2 separate regions of the Homo sapiens genome follow, and region 2 is linked to region 1. Evidence: promoter capture Hi-C in 16 types of primary human blood cells and fetal thymus (Javierre and others, 2016). All regions are on one chromosome and are shown on one strand. Each heading gives the region's core, a stretch centred on a gene start or on the middle of the fragment in contact. The rest is flanking DNA. Distances are from core to core; before and after follow the strand shown.

What was found. The method cuts DNA at HindIII sites, captures the fragments that hold promoters and counts their contacts. A CHiCAGO score of 5 or more calls a contact.
Region 2: a contact is called between the fragment with the promoter of SLC22A3 here and the fragment with the promoter of SLC22A1 in region 1, in 1 of 17 cell types (total CD4 T cells). The highest score is 7.0, in total CD4 T cells.

What each region holds. Positions count from the first base shown.
Region 1 is chr6:160,119,730-160,123,556 of GRCh38, reverse strand. It overlaps SLC22A1 (solute carrier family 22 member 1), which reads right to left and starts at 1,742. Exons shown (of 11, transcript NM_003057.3): 1 at 1,211-1,742. The coding sequence starts at 1,621. It overlaps LOC124901452 (a long non-coding RNA gene), which reads left to right and starts at 1,862. Exons shown (of 2, transcript XR_007059842.1): 1 at 1,862-2,715. The HindIII fragment of the contact is 2,683 bases long and covers 150-2,832 here.
Region 2 is chr6:160,346,237-160,350,063 of GRCh38, reverse strand. SLC22A3 (solute carrier family 22 member 3) reads right to left here and starts at 1,686. Exons shown (of 11, transcript NM_021977.4): 1 at 1,216-1,686. The coding sequence starts at 1,644. The HindIII fragment of the contact is 11,280 bases long and covers 1-3,827 here.

The DNA.
Region 1 (3,827 bases), core at 493-2,992:
GGGCTGCCTAACTTGTCATCCATTGTTGGAGGATGCCTTGGAGACAAGATGTCTCTTCAGCATCGTAAAGCCAGTTGCACCGGCACCTGCTCTGCTCCAGGCAAGCAGGTAGAGCAATGCTCAGGCCCAGAGGGGAGGGACCCTAAGCTTTCCTCCAGTAATAGCCCTAAATGTGTCACCGCTGATACCACTCAGGAAAGGGAAAAGAGGAAGAACAGAGACCCAAGAAGTCCGGAGAGCTTGGGCGAGGGTAGTGGGGGCAGACAAGTGGGCAGGACCAGAGGCAGGGAGGGCCCAGTTACCTCTTATTTCAGGGAAGCAGTGCCTGCACCAAAACCACGCCACTGCTCGTTACTAACAGAAGGCCCCTGACGGGCTTTGGCCCACAGCTTCTCCAACCCACCAAGCATCCACACTTGTTACCGTGCAATAGTTTCAAAAGGGCTCATGATGGGAAAAAAATGTGGTGACACTTTTTACTAAAGGATTCTCAAAGCAAAATGCTCAAATAACCAAGTAAACTACTCAAGCAAGGCCCTTTTGAGGCCATCGCCCTATCCCATGGGCCCCATCGGACTGCACGGTGTGACTCAGTTTGGATTTGCTCAGTGCTTTCACAGATCCCAGCTGAAGCTCACACCCCTATGAGGCAGCCGTCATCATCCCTGGTTGACTGATGAGGAAATGAGGCTTAGAGAGGCAGTGACTTACCCAGTGATGCTCAGCTAATAAGGGGCACAGCTGGGATTCCACCAAATATTCTCACTTCCAAGCCAGGGCAATTCCAGGCCACCTCAACACCATCATTGAGGTCAATCGTCATCACTCTTGAGCAGAAGGAGGGGGCCCACAGTACTATTGGTGGGGAAGCGGGACCCAGAGCAAGTTGATAGTTCTGGGAGAAGCCAGTGGGGCAGGCAGAGAGGCTCCTGGTCTCCCAGTCAACTCCCATTCAAGCAACCTGGCAACCTGGCCCCCGACTTGTGCTAGCTGTTCTCTCCTGCCTCAGCTTCCTCCTCAAAGACCCAGAGTTTGTGGTGGATTAAACTAGAGAAGAGAATGCCCCGTGCCTGGGACACAGCCAGACACCCACGAACTGCACAATAAACATAGCCCCCTACCTCTTTCCTGATATGGAACTGAACTTCATAGGATTTGCTTTATATTTCTCCCTGTCCCAGGAACTCCCATGTTACAGAGGCTTTTTTACCTCAGTGACGATGGAAGAGCCGGGCGTGTCATACACCCAGCCATCCTGGCAGGGACCCAGCGGCAGGTGGCTCCTGTTGGTGGCCAGGCTAGCCAGGGGGTCTACACAGCTGAGGGCGCTCTGGTTCCAGTCCACTTCATAGCGCCTGCACTGGCCAAGGAAGGCCTCGCCCGCGGGCCCCAGGCCTGGCACTGTATAGTTCAGCTCCTCCGCAGGGCTCCAGCCACAGCGCTGGCTCAGCTCAGCCACCCCAGGACTCTGGCAGTGGTGGTCAGGTGTGAAACCCAGGAAGACGATGCCCACACAGATGGGCGCAAAGGCAGCCGACAGCAGGCATAAGATGAGGAAGGCTTGCTTCTGGAACCAGCCAGACTCCCCAACCTGCTCCAGAATGTCATCCACGGTGGGCATGATGGCTCAGCATGCTCATGGCCGTGGCCAGACCTGCTCTGGGCTGCAGTGGCCAGGTGCAATGTCTCCCTCAGAGATCTTTGAAAAGGAGTGGTTTGAAATCAGTTTGCTGTCCAAGTGTGAAACATCTGGAAGGCAACCAAGTAGAAATAATCTTTTACCCTATGGTGCTGGTTTCAGGAAAAGGAAGAATGCACGTGGCCATCTGATCAAATCGTTTGCTTTGCCCGGGAGCGAGTCAGTGGGGTCTAAGCCCGAAGAGAATTGAAGTTCAGCCACAGAGCAAGAAGAGGGCAGGAGAGCAGGCCGTGCAAACCTCCTAGTAGCTCCCTCAGGGCTCTTCCAAAAAGAATATCTACTTGTTTTCTAGATGTGATGGTATGAGGCAAGTATTGGGTGACAGCCAGGTACTAGATACTGTATTCGGCTAATTAGTTCTGTGATACCATTTAAGTATTTTTTTTAGTTTTTTTTTCCCATAGGTTTTGAGGGAACAGGTATTATTTGGTTACATGAGCAGGTTCTTTAGTGGTGATTTGTGAGATTTTGGTGCATCCATCTCCCAAGCAGTATACACTGCACCCAATTTGGGTGTTTTAAGCTCCACCTCTTCATTTGTGTGTGTGTATACATGTCTAGATGTGTTTACTTGTATGTACACTTACTGTTATATGTTGTGTCTACCAAATTGGCTTATAAGTAAAAGAGTGTTCATAAATTAAGTAAATAAGTCTAAGCAATTTTCAAATTCACTTAAGTATGACTTTGCTAAATAGGCTGTCTTTTAAATTATCAGTAAAATGAAAATAGAAATGTCTTCAAAATATAGACATGGTCTAAATTATGCAAGTCAGAAACTAGGTTGACTAAATGCTTTAAGGTCATAAACTGCTTTGGCTTTTGAAAATTGTTCAACTTTCCTGCTTTGCAGTTTGGTAGGGCCTGCCCTAGCTATGCTGGAAATAGTTAGACCTCATCTGCACCTAAGTACGTAACTAAAATAACTTACTGGGTATTTCACCAAAATTAACAATTACTAAGAGCTACCATTATAACATGTAGTGATGACTACTGAAAACAGATCTACACGTGAGGTGAGTAAGGAGAGTAAAATGTATCATTAGTAAAATAATATAAGAAGGCATGGGAATGTAAATTTTTGCCTAGTTCAGAGGGTTAAATGATTGTTTTAAATTATATAAGATAAAGCTTAAGGTTCAAACAAGTTATGGAAGGTTTGTAAAAAATTAATCTTGTAAAAGGAATCCTGTGTGTAAACATATTGACTACACTAAAAAGGATATTATTTGGTTTTCCATAAGTTGAACAATGGAATACAAGCACAACAAGGTTTTCTTGAAGCACTTACATGCTGTTTAACAAAAAAAATTTGTAAAAGGTTATAAAAGATTTATAACAATCTCAGTTCATGATCAAACTGATTAAGATTGGATGGATTTCTCTGTAAGGTTTTATTTTTTTTAATTGGGGTTGACATTAATAGACTAATGTAAGGGTAAAATTTGGCTTTCACTTGAACAAGATTTTCATGCAATGAAAGATTTTGTTTTCTTTGTGAATAAGCTACTGACACAAGAAGGGAAGGACAAGAGATCAACAGGACTCCAGGGTCAATAGGGCTCCATAGCTGAGGGGAAGGGAGCTCAGCAGCCTGACATGCTGGCGAAAGGGTAAAAGTTCTTACCAGTCAGACTTTTGGTTTCTCTCTCTGTGCAAACTGGTTGCAGGAACAATAAAAAAATCACTATATTCTCTGCCCCTCCATGAATTCAACTGGCCATTTGGCATGGCTAAAGTTGGATAATAAGAGACTTAAAAGGACTTCTTAAAAAGGAGTGCGATGGTTAAAAGTTAGATTGTTTGGAAAATTAGGTCTTCCCTCTTAGTGACTGAAGGTTTTTGCTTTGAGTCATTTAAATGAATGACTTATAGTAACCAAAAATTCTGTTAAGTGTTTTGAGCCTTTACAGCTTCAAAATTTTCTTTCCTAACCCCTGAGTTTTGGATGCTACAGAAGACACCTGGAGCATCGAAAGGGAGAGGTAAACAGGGTTATTTGACAAGTTTAGTTACATAGGATTACCAAAATAAGGTGTTTGATCTTCAGGTTATATTTTAGTGAAAAATGTTAATGTGTGTTTCAAAATTGTATGGGATTTCTAGATTTCTGATGCCTGAGTTTGTG
Region 2 (3,827 bases), core at 437-2,936, 230 kb before region 1:
GCGAACACACCAGCACATGGCGTATAAAACATGTACAATTGCAACCACCGACACTCCCAACTGCAGCGAGATAAGCTCACCAGACCAACAGCAACAGCGGCAGAAAGGGCGCTCCTACCTCCTCATCCAGTGTTTTCCCCACTCTTCAAGTAGGTGATTTTTTAAAGTTTATCACAAAAAAAAGACAAACCTTTTTTCCTAATGTACCTGATCACATTCAATCTTTTTTTAAAATTAACTTAAGCTGTGATTGTAGACAAAGCTCAGTAAAACTGCTCATCTCTGCAACCCATGCTCAATTGAGGCCGTTTCTGAGTTCCGATTATTACAAAGTGACTCTGCTCTATATCTGGACCTCACAGAGAGGCAATCTTCCATTTCAGCAAGGATGCAGAAACAGATTACTGAGGGCAAGGGTGAAGGAAGCTCCCCTAACTTCCAAATGCACTGACTGCCCAAAATGTGGGGATCGCCCCCGCCCACCCGCCGGCAGCAGCCTCCGCCTGTAAATGGGTTGGGGATTTGCGTTGGAAGGCTGTGGCCCTCCCGCTATGTTCCTAAAATTTATTACCAGAAAAAAAAACTAAAATTTATCCAATACTTCAGTTTTCCCAACTTATCCCAGATGTTGCTCTTTGCCCCAAAGCAATTTTACCAAAACCATTCCCCGGGAAAGCCTCGACCTTTGTCCCCTTGCATTTTGAGTAACCATTTGGGCAACTGGAAAAAAGCTGCTGCTGCCTTCAAACGTTGGTTCGCCCTTTCCTTTGACCCTGGAGACCATAAGCGAATCCGGAACTGCCAACGTCGCTCACCCCAGAGACTGAAGTTCCCTATCGCGCACCTAACCATAATTTCCAATGACGGCGCCCGCACACCTCAAAGATAAGGAACGCGGTGCTGGGTCTTTGACTCCTGAGCAGGCGTGCGCCAGGCGTTTACAACTCGGCTTCGAAGAAAGTTTTTGTTCACACCCGAAACCAAAGTATCTGTGCATTAACTCACGGGCTCAGGCAGATAACGAAAGGCTTTTCCCAGCATTTACGACGCGGCACTTCCAAGGGTGCGCTGAATCCTGTCTGTCCCCAGAGGTAGCCGACCGGTCCCCGTCTCCACCGACCTCCCCTGGCGGCCAGCGTCTCACACGCGGCTTGTCCGCCTGGGAGCCAGCATCGTCCTCTCCCGCCGGCTTCCAAAGGGCCGGGGCGCCCTTACCTCGCTGACGATGGTGGAGTGGGCCTGGGCGTAGCGCCAGCCGCCGCGGCACGGCACAAGGGGAGCCGAGCGGTTGGGGAAGGCGGCGAGTGGGTCCGCGCAGCTGAGAGCGCTAGTGGCGGAGGCGCTGTCGTTGGCCGCCTCCAGGAGGTAGCGCTGGCAGCGGCCGCGGCGCTCGGGGGGCTCTGGGCCGCGGGAGGCGGGCGCCGTGCGGTTCCACTCCTCCTCCGGGCTCCAGCCGCAGCGCTCGGCCAGCGCCGCGGCACTTGGCCCGCGGCACCAGTAGTGGTCGGGCTGCGTGCCCAGGAAGACCACGCCGACGAAGAGGAAGGCGAAGGTGACGCCCGTCAGGCACAGCAGCAAAAACACGCGCCTCTGGAAGCGCCCGAACTCGCCCACCCGCTGCAGCGCCTCGTCGAAGGAGGGCATGGTGCGCCCGCCGCCCGCCGCCCGCAGCCCGCGCCTCGGAGTGACCCGCGGACCCAGCCGGCGGCCTCTCTTTACTCCGCCGCCTCCCCCGCGCCACCCGCCTCACTCGCCCTGGCGCTGTGCCGGCCGCAGCCGCTCCTCCTGCCCCCCGCGGCCCCCGCCTCTCTTCCCCGGGCGCCCGCAGCAGCCCCGGGCCACAGGTCGCGGGAGGGACGGCCGCGAGCCGGACGCACCCGGCCGGGGTGGGCGCGCGGTGGGGCTCGGGCGGTGCGGCCTGACTACGCGCCAGGGACCCGGCCGGGACCGCGAGTGACGGGCGCAGCCTCCGGCCTGGCGCGGAGCTCCTTTTGGTCCCTGCCAGCAGCCTGCTCTGCAGTCAGCCCCAGGTCGGGCTCCAGAAGAAGAAAGTTCCAGGGTCACCCGACCACTCCCGGAACTTCTGGGACCCGATCTCTCAGCGGCCCGGAGTGCAGCCCGGGGACTAAGGACGCGCGCGCGCGCCCCGGGTCCGGTGCCTGTGCCCGGGAGAGCCCCCTCCAGCCCTTGGCCCTTGCGCGTGCGGAGGCCTCCTGCGCCCATGTGGGGCAGGGCAGGGCAGGGCAGGGCAGGGCAGGGCAGGGCAGGGCAGGGCTGCCCGTTCCCAGCACAGCGCTGGCCATCGCCCTCGACCCATCGAGAGCTACAACTTGGGATTTGATCACCCAACTTTCCCCAGAGGGCAGCCGGGCAACCCACACAGGCGAAGGGGCTTGCTCAGCGTCCAGGAGGTTTGGGGTGAGAAGGGATCGCCTCAAGGCCAGGCCTGATGCAGACCTCCTTCGCCAGGGCCTTCCCACCCACCTTCGGTCTGAACGCCAGGGAAGGGTGTTGGTGGTTGGTTTGAATCCTGGTTTTTCCGCTTACTTATTGCGCCTGCCAATTCGGCAGAGCGCGATCAGAACTTCCCGCCCAGGCTGCCCAGGCTGCTGGGTCCATGCTGGGACGCCTTCCCCGGGCTGGGTCGCGGTCCCCCCACGCCCCCACGTTATCGGCCCACGTTCTGCCTTTAGCTCACTTTTCTCCAAGGCCTTGGGAGGACTTGCGGTTCCTCCTCCGGAACAAGGAGTTTGAAGCCAGGCTGCTTGGATTCAAACTGGCCTCATGTCCTCACCAGCAGTTTCAACTGCCCGCTGGACCCCAGACTCAGTCTGTCCCCCTCCAACCCAGCTCCCCTTTCCTGCCCTGCCTTTCGGTGCAACCATGTCCTGGGCCCAGACTCAGAACCTCAGTATGGCGGGGACACCACTCACTCCTCAGGCCTGTACTCTTAGGTCATCTCGGCTTGGAACCCCTTTTGCCAATGTTGGAGCTCAGAAAACAATACGCCAAAATGAAGGCCTCAGAAGCAGTCTCTGTGTCATCTTCTGCCCTCCTGTCTCTCGGTCCCATTCTCCCCCAGGCTAGCCATCGAAACCAGAACGCTTTTCCCCAAAGCCAGTCATAAAACAAAAATATCACTGTGATTTTCCCTCACTTGTCTGTGTAAAAACTGGCCATAAAGAAATCAACTGTTCTACCTTGTTGATTGCAGTCCTAAGACCTCCCATTCCACAGAAGAACCTGCCCCTTACCCAGAAGGAAAAAAAGGCTGCTCAGAGAGGCCAAGAAGAATCTAGAGCCACCGGCCTCGCTGGGTTTCCTCACTCAGTATCAGCATCAGATCACACCCTTTTGGTCCAATCCTATTTCGACAGGGCTCTCCATGTTTTGTTGAACCTAAGCATAAAACTAGGCAATTTCCCCTGTATCTTTGGGCCTTCCTTCTGAAGGCCCCCATGTACACCTTAAATAAATAAGTACACCTTTTCTTCTAGCCATCTGCCTCTTGTCAGTGAATTTTCAGGGAACTGGGACCAGTCAACAACCCACCCCAACCTCTGCATACACTAGCACATTCCCCCCTTTCCTGCTTTGTCTCCAAAGCACTTATCATCACCATATATTGTCATAGATATGTTTTTATTCATTTATCATATATTTATATTTATACTTATTCATTTTATTTATTTATCTTATCTGTGTCTCTCCATTACAACTCAAGTTTCATGAGGGCAGACAGTTTTGTATTTTCTTCTATCGATACCTTCTGGAACAGTGCTTGGTGCATTGTAGGTGCTCAGTAAATATTTGTGAAATAAACAGAT